3 separate regions of the Homo sapiens genome follow, and regions 2 and 3 are each linked to region 1. Evidence: promoter capture Hi-C in human tissues and cell types (Jung and others, 2019). All regions are on one chromosome and are shown on one strand. Each heading gives the region's core, a stretch centred on a gene start or on the middle of the fragment in contact. The rest is flanking DNA. Distances are from core to core; before and after follow the strand shown.

Evidence for each region. The method cuts DNA at HindIII sites, captures the fragments that hold promoters and counts their contacts. A contact is called where the count stands out against the background at its distance.
Region 2: a contact is called between a fragment that was not itself captured here and the fragment with the promoter of TACO1 in region 1, in 1 of the 25 tissues and cell types used here (hippocampus).
Region 3: a fragment that was not itself captured here is called in contact with the fragment with the promoter of TACO1 in region 1 in 2 of the 25 tissues and cell types used here (dorsolateral prefrontal cortex and hippocampus).

Annotation. Positions count from the first base shown.
Region 1 is chr17:63,599,395-63,602,281 of GRCh38, forward strand. TACO1 (translational activator of cytochrome c oxidase I) reads left to right here and starts at 1,501. Exons shown (of 5, transcript NM_016360.4): 1 at 1,501-1,969. The coding sequence starts at 1,690. The HindIII fragment of the contact is 17,557 bases long and covers 1-2,887 here.
Region 2 is chr17:63,190,549-63,193,586 of GRCh38, forward strand. The region is part of intron 5 of TANC2 (tetratricopeptide repeat, ankyrin repeat and coiled-coil containing 2); the gene reads left to right. Among named protein-coding and RNA genes, the nearest start is that of TANC2, 230 kb to the left of the region's middle. The HindIII fragment of the contact is 6,153 bases long and covers 1-3,038 here.
Region 3 is chr17:63,106,389-63,109,644 of GRCh38, forward strand. All of the region lies in intron 4 of TANC2 (tetratricopeptide repeat, ankyrin repeat and coiled-coil containing 2), which reads left to right. Among named protein-coding and RNA genes, the nearest start is that of TANC2, 140 kb to the left of the region's middle. The HindIII fragment of the contact is 4,415 bases long and covers 1-3,256 here.

The DNA.
Region 1 (2,887 bases), core at 251-2,750:
TACGGTAGAAACAGATATAAACATTTTGATATTTTTTTAAAAGGTAAGTGCTAAGGTGCAAGCATGTATGAAGGGCTATGGGCACCCACCGCACCTGGCTAATTTTTGTATTTTTAGTAGAGACGGGGTTTCACCATGTTGACCAGGCTGGTCTTGAACTCCTGACCTCAAGTGATCTGCCAGCCTCGGCCTCCCAAAGTGCTAGGATTACAGGCGTGAGCCACCGCACCCAGCCCCATGGAGGTTCTTATATAATAAAAAATAAAAAATCTATGCTTTTGTGCTTTGCATCCATTATCCCATTTAGTCCTCACAAGGCCATTCTATGGTAAGGAAACTGAAACAGGAAAGTAAAGGAACTTGCCCAAGGATACACTAGAAAATGGAACAACCAGGGTTTGAAGCCACCCAGTCTAACTGCAGAGGGCACAAACTTGGACTTCACACTGTCCTGCTTCTCTCTCTCTCTCTCTCTCTTTTTTTTTTTTTTTTTTGAGTTGGATTCTCGCTCTGTCGCACAGGCTGGAGTGCAGTGGCGCGATCTCGGCTCACTGCAACCTCCTCTTCCCGGGTTCAAGCGATTCTCCTGCCTCATCCTTCTGAGTAGCTGGCATTACAGGCGCGCGCCACCACGGCCGGCTAATTTTTTTGTATTTTTAGTAGAGACGGGGTTTCACCATGTTGGTCAGACTGGTCTGGCACTCCTGACCTAGCGATCCGTCTGCCTCAGCCTCCCAAAGTGCTGGGATTACAGGCGTGAGCCACCGCGCCCGGCTGTCCTGCTTCTCTACCTGATATGTCATGCCCTTTGGACTTAATCTCACCAGCATGGGAGTCACTACAAAGCTTTTCAGCAGCTGCCGCTTTGTTTCTCTCCATCTTCTAACGGATTCGGTTTTCTCTTTCGAGACAGCAGAGAGAAAATGAAGAGGGGAGTTTAGCTCCAAAGGGCTTGTCTGATCATTCTCCCTCTCCCAAAGGCCTGTGACTCATCTGAGTCTGTCCCAAACCATCTCTTGCATCTAGGGGCTTAAGTGCACTGTGGCTATTTACATAAAACTTTATTACTTTAAAGCTCTAAGGGCTCATTTTGTGTTTCTAACTTTCCTATGTTGATAAAGCAAATATTAGATCCTTATTTATAAATAGGGAAGACGTTCAGAGAGATTAAACATTTGGGCAATTCACTTCTCTGGCAGCAGTTTCTTTCCCAGTACAATGAGGCAACAACAAAATATCATTCTGGACTTGCTCAGATTTAGGCAGCAATTTGGAAGCAAAGTCAGTTTCATAACTCAGATGTGTCTCCACTAAAACATTATGAGAAACAAAGTCCGGCGCTCTCTAGGCAACCGTGAGGGCTTGAGCACTAACTAGATCTGCTCAAGGGCAAGAGAGGAGCGAGTACCGTGCAGCCACGGAACGGACTTTGCGGGCAGTGGGGACGTGTTTTTGGAGCGAACCCGGTAAAGGAAGTGTGCTACGCCATCAAGGGCCCCCAGTCCCGGGTGCCGCGGGGACAGTGTAGGGTCATTAGCTGTTGAGCCGCCCCGGGCGGGCCCAAGCCTTTGGATCTCAGGTGACCGGCACAGGCGGCCGCGGGGTCCGGAACTGCTTGTTCCGGCAGTGGAAGAGACGCGCCGGCGTTGGCCGCTGCTGCTAGCAGCTTGAACCCCAGGGTCGGGACCGATGTCGGCTTGGGCTGCTGCCAGCCTAAGCAGGGCCGCTGCCCGATGCTTGCTGGCACGAGGCCCCGGGGTCAGGGCGGCTCCTCCGCGCGACCCCCGGCCCTCCCACCCCGAGCCCCGGGGCTGCGGTGCCGCTCCGGGCAGGACGCTGCACTTTACCGCGGCTGTCCCCGCCGGGCACAACAAGTGGTCCAAAGTCAGGCACATCAAGGGTCCGAAGGACGTCGAAAGGAGTCGCATCTTCTCCAAACTCTGTTTGAACATCCGCCTGGCAGTGAAAGGTGAGACCCTGACGGTCACCCAGCACTGGCTGCCGCTGCCCTCTCAGTGCCCGCAGCCTCGCTTGCCTCTCGGAATTGGGCCCACCTAGATCTCCGGCCCTTCACTTTGTTTTCCTTCCCCAGTACCCACCATTGCCCACCTCATAAATCCTCAAAACACCTACCCTACGTTGGAGGTTCTCACTCACTTTTCCAGACGCTGAGCATCTGGCCAGTTTGTCAGAGAGGGAGCTGCTCTTAAGAAGATAAGCCGGTAAGGTAGAAGTGACTTCATCCTAATCTAGCTGGGTACTTAATAGAAACAAGCCCTAAGAGTCAGGGCAGATGTGTGTCTCTCCTGAAGAGACAAATCAACCCCTCTGAAGTCGCCTCAAGTACCTTATTGGTTGTGGCAGGGGCACTGAGTAAAGCTATTACTTAAGTGCTTAGGCCTTAGCTTAGGCCTTAGTTTGCTTCATTAATGTTTCCCCAAGACACATTTCCTTGGAAGGTAGATTTGCAGCCATGTCTTTTCTCCCTTAGGTCGCCACACTGAAAAGGCTTTTTTTCTGTTTAGGGCCAGACATCTGTAGGAGCAAAGGAAAAGTCCTGTAGAAAGCATGGACTTTGGACTGGGCGCAGTGGCACAGCCTGTAATCCCAGGCCAGAGGCAGGCAGATCACTTGAGGTCAGGAGTTCAGGACTAGCCTGGCCAACATGGGGAAACCCTGTGTCTACTAAAAATAACAAAAAAAAAAAAAAAAAAAAACAGCTGGGCATGGTGGTGCATGCCTGTAATGCTGGCTACTCGGGAGGCTGAAGCAGGAGAATTGCTTGAACCCAGGAGTTGAAGGCTGCAGTAAGCGAGATTGCTCTACTGTACTCCATCCAGCCTGGGTGACAGAGCAAGACTCCATCTCAAAAAAAAAAAAAAAAAAA
Region 2 (3,038 bases), core at 100-2,599, 410 kb before region 1:
AATTTTTATGATCAGCTGGTCAATTTCTGCAAAAATAAGGGAAGAAGGAAAGGAAGCGAGTAAGCAAGCAGCTGGAATTTTGATAAGGATTGCATTAAATTGGTAGATTGATTTGGGGAGTATTGATATCATAACAAAATTGTCTTCCAAACCATGAACATGGAAAACCATAATGCACCCTCCCCCCTGCAAAAAAAGAAGATTTGATACACACAATATGGATGAAACTCATTCTAAAATACACATTGCCTCCAAAGACCAGACAATCTTTAAAGTATGTCAAAGAATTTTCTTAAATTTTTTTAAATCACTTTCTCTGTTCTTAAAAATTAAGAACCCAATAACCCTGATAATTTAGCACTGATTTCTCTCTCTTAAGCTACCACTATTTCCATTAAATCCTCCCTTTTAGTGATCTTCAAATGGCCCTATTGTTAATTGTAATGAGGGGGAAAAAGGCTATCTTTATTCCACTGGCCAGACTTTTTTCTCCTGGTAAATTTTCATTTTGCAGGCAGAGAGGTTTTATCGTAGCAGTTACTTGCAAGTGGGAAGTAGAAATGAAACAAAAAGGGAAGAAAAATGGTAGTATTTAAGGAAGAATGCAGAATCAACGTACACTAAGTAGGAAAAAAATGAAAATGCGTGACCTGGTGACATTTTAAGCATATTTTAAATGAAATGGTTTGGAGGGGAGGACCTGGCTTTGTGTTTCAACATACAGTATTTGAATACACTATTATGTTGGTGCAAAAGTAATTGTGGTTTTTGCCATTACCTTTAATGGTGCCATAATGGCAAAAACCTCAATTACTTTTGCACCAAACTAATAAATTCCTGCAAGTGAGAAGCTGTTCATCTGGTCCTACAGAGCAACTTCAAAATATATTTCAGATATTCCCACCTTTTAAAAAAATATATTATTTATTTTTCAGACAGGATCTTGCTCTGTTGCCCAGGCTGGAGTGCAGTGACATGATCATGGCTAACTGCTACCTCGGCCTCCTGGGTTCAAGCAGTTCTCCTGCCTCAGTCTCCTAAGTAGCTGGGACCACAGGCGCGCGCCACCACACCCAGCCAATTTTTGTATTTTTTGCAGAGACGGGGTTTCACCACGTTGCCCAGGCTGGTCTTGAACTCCTGGGCTCAAGTGATCAACCTGCCTCGGCATCCCAAAGTGCTGGGATTTCAAGCATGAGCCACCGCGCCTGGCCCCACCCTTGTTTGTTTTCAGAAGTAACTATTTTTAATTTATTTTAAAATAGGAAATGAAAGTGGAATAGGGAAGAGGTTACTGACAGTTAAGTCTGTAATCTAGAAACCAGAAAGGAAGTGCCTCTACTGTTTCTACTTTATTCCACCAGAAATCCTGGCATACTTTCAGGAAGAGGAGACAGAGGCAGCCGTTGATAATCTAAGACTTAAGATGGAGGGATTCGCAATTAGGTCCCTGTCTGTTATTTGAGAAGCCCCCACTAATTCATCTACTAGGCCTTTCATAATGTGTAAAATTTTACTCAAGATCAACAAATAAGAAAAGTTCAAAACAAATGTAATTGCCAAAGATAGTTTTTTCGTATCATAACCTGGTATCGGATTTCTTTCGTTATAGAGTGCACGACAGATAATATATTAATGTCATCCTCAAATGATATTTTGAGACGAGGTAAGTAAATAGGAAAGAAAAAGTAGATTTAGCAAGGTTTAAAAAATACCAGTCAAACCAGATGAAAAGGACCTGGTGTGGTAGCAGTATCTAATATAGCCACTCACAGAAGAATTCTTGAACTTCTTTCTGCATTAGTACTTGGAAGTACTGAAAGTAGTAATGTAGAAAGGGTTGCAGTTATCTGTCTCTTAAGAACCTCCATTCGATTACCTTACTTAGTGTTTACAACATGCTTTGTTAAGATTATTGAGATTAACATGCTATGAGCAATATGCCTATTATTACAAGTTATCTCTTATTCAGACATTCTCACCATTTGTAATATTTCTTTCCAGTGAGGAAGACACTGTGTTGTGCTCATTGGGAGCATAGATTCTGGAGTCAGGGAGCTCAAGTTCTAATCCTGGCTCTGCCATTTACTGGTTTTATTACTTTGAGCAAATAATTTAATGTATCTGTGCCTCTATTTTCTCATCTGTAAAATGAGGGTAATAATTTCTACCTTAGAAAGTGGAATCTAAAGTTATGAAGGTTAAGCTAATATATGTAAAGTGTTTACACTAGTGACTTGTACATCATAAGCATTATGTAAGTATATGCTAAATAAATATATACTCTTATTTTCCATATAGATTATAAACTTTTCAAAGTCAATGACTATATCTCCGTGTTGTATAAATTCTCGTATCTGTTGTTAACCATGTACATAGGAAACACTTATTATCAGAGTAACTTTGTAGGAGACAGTGAAATAGAGCCCCAGAATATCTAGAGGTCTGGAATCTACAATGAGAAAAATTTGCAAAAGATTAGTTAGTTTAACCTTTAGGAGGGAGGAAAGTGTTACTCATTAATTTGAAGAGACCAGTTTTGCCTTTTCATTTTATCAAGGAATAAGAAGCTTTCAATTGTTCTTGAGAAAAAAATAAGTTATCTAAATGTTTATAACATAAAAATAACCCTACTGATTCTCTTATTTCTGTTCTGTGGCAAAGAAATCTATTTATGTTGCCTCTGGGAGGATAATAGGAGAGGAAAAATAGAGCCTTGTTTTTCTACCTTGACATACATTCAGTGAGAGTTTTGTAGAGATTTTTCACAGATGGAACTTGAGTTCAGTACTAATACACAAAAATACACATATACCCTATCTCTGACCCCCAGCTTGTGACTTTATTAGAGAAGTTGATATAAATGTTAAATGGAATAATAACAATGCAGATCTTACCTTCTTAGCATTTGGAGTGGTTTACTGTGTAATACTGAATATCCTAAATAATAGGATATGATTGTGTTTTGTGATGCTGTTGTTTTGGCATCAAACCGTATGACACTTCAGTTAATGCTTGTAATGCTAATGGATATATCT
Region 3 (3,256 bases), core at 61-2,560, 490 kb before region 1:
GAGTGGGGCAGAGGATAGAATCAGTGGATGGAAAATTATTAAGAGGAAGCTTCAAGAGTAAGGGGATTATTGCCGAACCAACTAAACAGTGCCTTGCTGAAGGCAAGCCATGTTGACCAGATTATCAAGGGTAGGGGGATTCTCACTAAACTGAGTTAGCAGGATTCTTGCTACAACTGGGCCAGGAGGCGTGAGGACAAGGCCCACGCAAGAACGTTGAAAAGAGGTATCAGAGGAACCTGACTAAAGTTTGGTTAAGGGGTGAGCCTTTGCCACTGCGTATATGTTGAACACCTAAAAGGCGGCATGAATTATCAAACAAATAATCCTTTTGTGATATTTGCACACACTGGATTTCAAAATAATTAAACCTTCTCTTTTTATATTTAACCTGTGAGGTTTTAGACAAGAAAGTAATTTTCTAGTTTTTTTTCTTTTCATATTTGAATGGAAGTCACTCATACAAAGTGAAAGTTTTATTTATAGTATTGTAGTGTTTATTTATAAAAGGATTATTTGTAGTAAGTGTAGTATTACTGTATGTATTCTTTTGAAATATAGTAGCCTTGTCTTCCTACCTCTATTCAGCCACCACTAGGGAAAGTTTGCGAAAGTGCCCAAATGACCCTTAATGAAGAGAGAGCCAAAATAACAAGTCATTGATACTTTTAAGATGAAGTGGTTTCATTTCTGTCAGGTTAGATGATTTGCAAGGTTATGATGAAAATTGGAATGGAAGAAAAACAATAAGAAAAATATTTTTAAAAGTCAAATAAGATAAAATAAGTTGCTTGTCACAAGAAAGTGATTTCAGTTTCCCTTATAAAGACAAAGTTATCAGAATGTATAAAAAGCATTTCCAGGGAGTGTTATTTATAATAGATGCTTCTAAACAAATTGAGAGGAAGCTTACAAATAAAGGAATGAAAAATATATACCAAATAAATGTTGAGAAAAGGATAGTATTATTTGCAATAATATTAAACACAAATAAAAAAGTTTTATTTGATATTTTATGCAGATACAATTCATGAAGTAGATGTTAACGATTATTGCTTTTTTATGCATGAGACAACATGGCATCAAAATGTATAAAGTTATCCAAGAGAAAAGAAAACATATGTTCACACCAAAACTTGTACATGTATGTTCATAGCAGCATTATTCATAATAGCCAAAGAGTGAAAACAGTTTGATGTTCATCAGCTGATGAGTGGATAAATAAAAAGTGATATATTCGTATTATTTGGCATTAAAAATAAATGCTTTCATGATCCATGGTGAACCTTGAAAACGTTACACTAAGTGAAGGAAACCAGTCACAAAAGAACATATGTTATACAATTGCAGTTATATGAAATGTCCAGAATAGGCAAGTAATCTATAGAGACAGAATGTTAATTGGTGGTTACCTAAGGGAAAGGGGTCACCAACGATGGTATAGGTAGTGAATGCTTAAGGGTATAGGGTTTCATTTTGGGGTGATGAAAATGTTCTAAACTTAGATTATGCTGACAATTGTACAACTCTGTGAATGAACTAAATCCATTAAATTGTACTTATATCTCAATAAGGAAGTTTTTTAAAAATAAAAACTTCATATAGTAAACATTAGCAATGAAAGGGAAAGTTGATGAATTTATATTTAACCCATTTATGCCAGAGGCTACAAATTTTTTCATGTCAAAAATCAGACCTTGGCCATGACCTTGAGCAGTAGGATATAAATAACTCCCACAAGCTTAGCGTTCCAATAGTGGAACACTAGGCATAAATGAGTTAAGGCAGATTTCATGCCTCATAAAATGAACAGCTCATTAAAGGATATGGATAATTTGAATAATAAGCAATTAAACTTAACTCATTATATTTCAGAATTGCTAAAATACTTGGAATGTTCTAAACAAAAAGAAATAAGTGTTTGAGGTGATGGATATCTCAGTTACCCTGATTTGATCATTACATATTATATGCCTGTATCCAGATATTACATATACCCCATAAATATGTAAAGTTAATATGTGTCAAGTTTTTAAAAGCTTAATTCAGCCGAGTGTAGAACCTCATACTGAAAAACATAAGATTTCTTATACTTGTATTGTTTTCCAGCACTTGTGAACTGTTTATAAAAGTTGATTATAGGCCAGACGTTGTGGCTCACGCCTGTAATCCCAGCACTTCGGGAGGCCGAGGCGGGCAGATCAGAGGCCAAGAGATCGAGACCATCCTGGCCAACATGGTGAAACTCCATCTCTACTAAAAATACAAAAATCAGCTGGGTGTGGTGTCATGTGCCTGTAGTCCCAGCTCCTTGGGAGGCTGAGGCAGGAGAATCCCTTGAACCCGTGAGGCAGAGGTTGCAGTGAGCCAAGATCATGCGGCTGCACTCCAGCCTGGTGACAGAGCAAGACTCCATCTCAAAAAAAATATAAATAAATAAATAAAAATAAAAAATTTTAAAAAGTTGATTATATAGTTGGCCATAAAGAAATCTCTGTACAATGCACATATTTTTCATTGAAAATCAAAATAGAATCTAACAACAAAGAAGATAGGGAGAAATTTCTTTTCTACTTCTAAAATTTTAAAGTTTTAAAATAACTTTTTAAAATAACTTTTGGGTTAAAACAGAAACCAAAATTGAAAAAAAAGTTGGAAATTAACATGTATTATGTATTAAAACTTATGAAATGTAGCCAAAGTGGTACTCTATGGAAAAGTCATTACCTTGAATACTTTTATTAGAAAACAAGAAGTACTGAAAATAAATGAACTAATAAGGAGATCGAGGAAGACATAGTAAACATGAAGTAATCAATAAAGTTAAAAGGGAAAATGAATAAGCAAAAAACTAGTACTTGATCAGTAAAGCCAGTTTCCTTGAAAAGACTAAGATAATAGAGCAATCTTTGATAGAAGTGATCAAAATGAAAAAGAGGGAGTGAGAAAAGATAACATACAGAACATACAGAACAAGAAATTAGTCACTAATCTTTTTATTATAAGGGAATACAGCATATAGCTTTATAGCAAAACAATACACACAAAAAAACCTTGAATGAGATGGAAGAAAACTGCTGTAAATTTGACTCAAGAAAACTTAAAATTATGACTAGCCTGGTAACCATAGAAATCAAAGATCTCCAAGAGTCATCAGACCTAGATGATTTTACAGGCGAGTTTTAGCTAAACTTACAAGTAATAATTATAATAATAGTAGTAGTAATTAAAGATAATATTTTTTGAGCTGTTACCC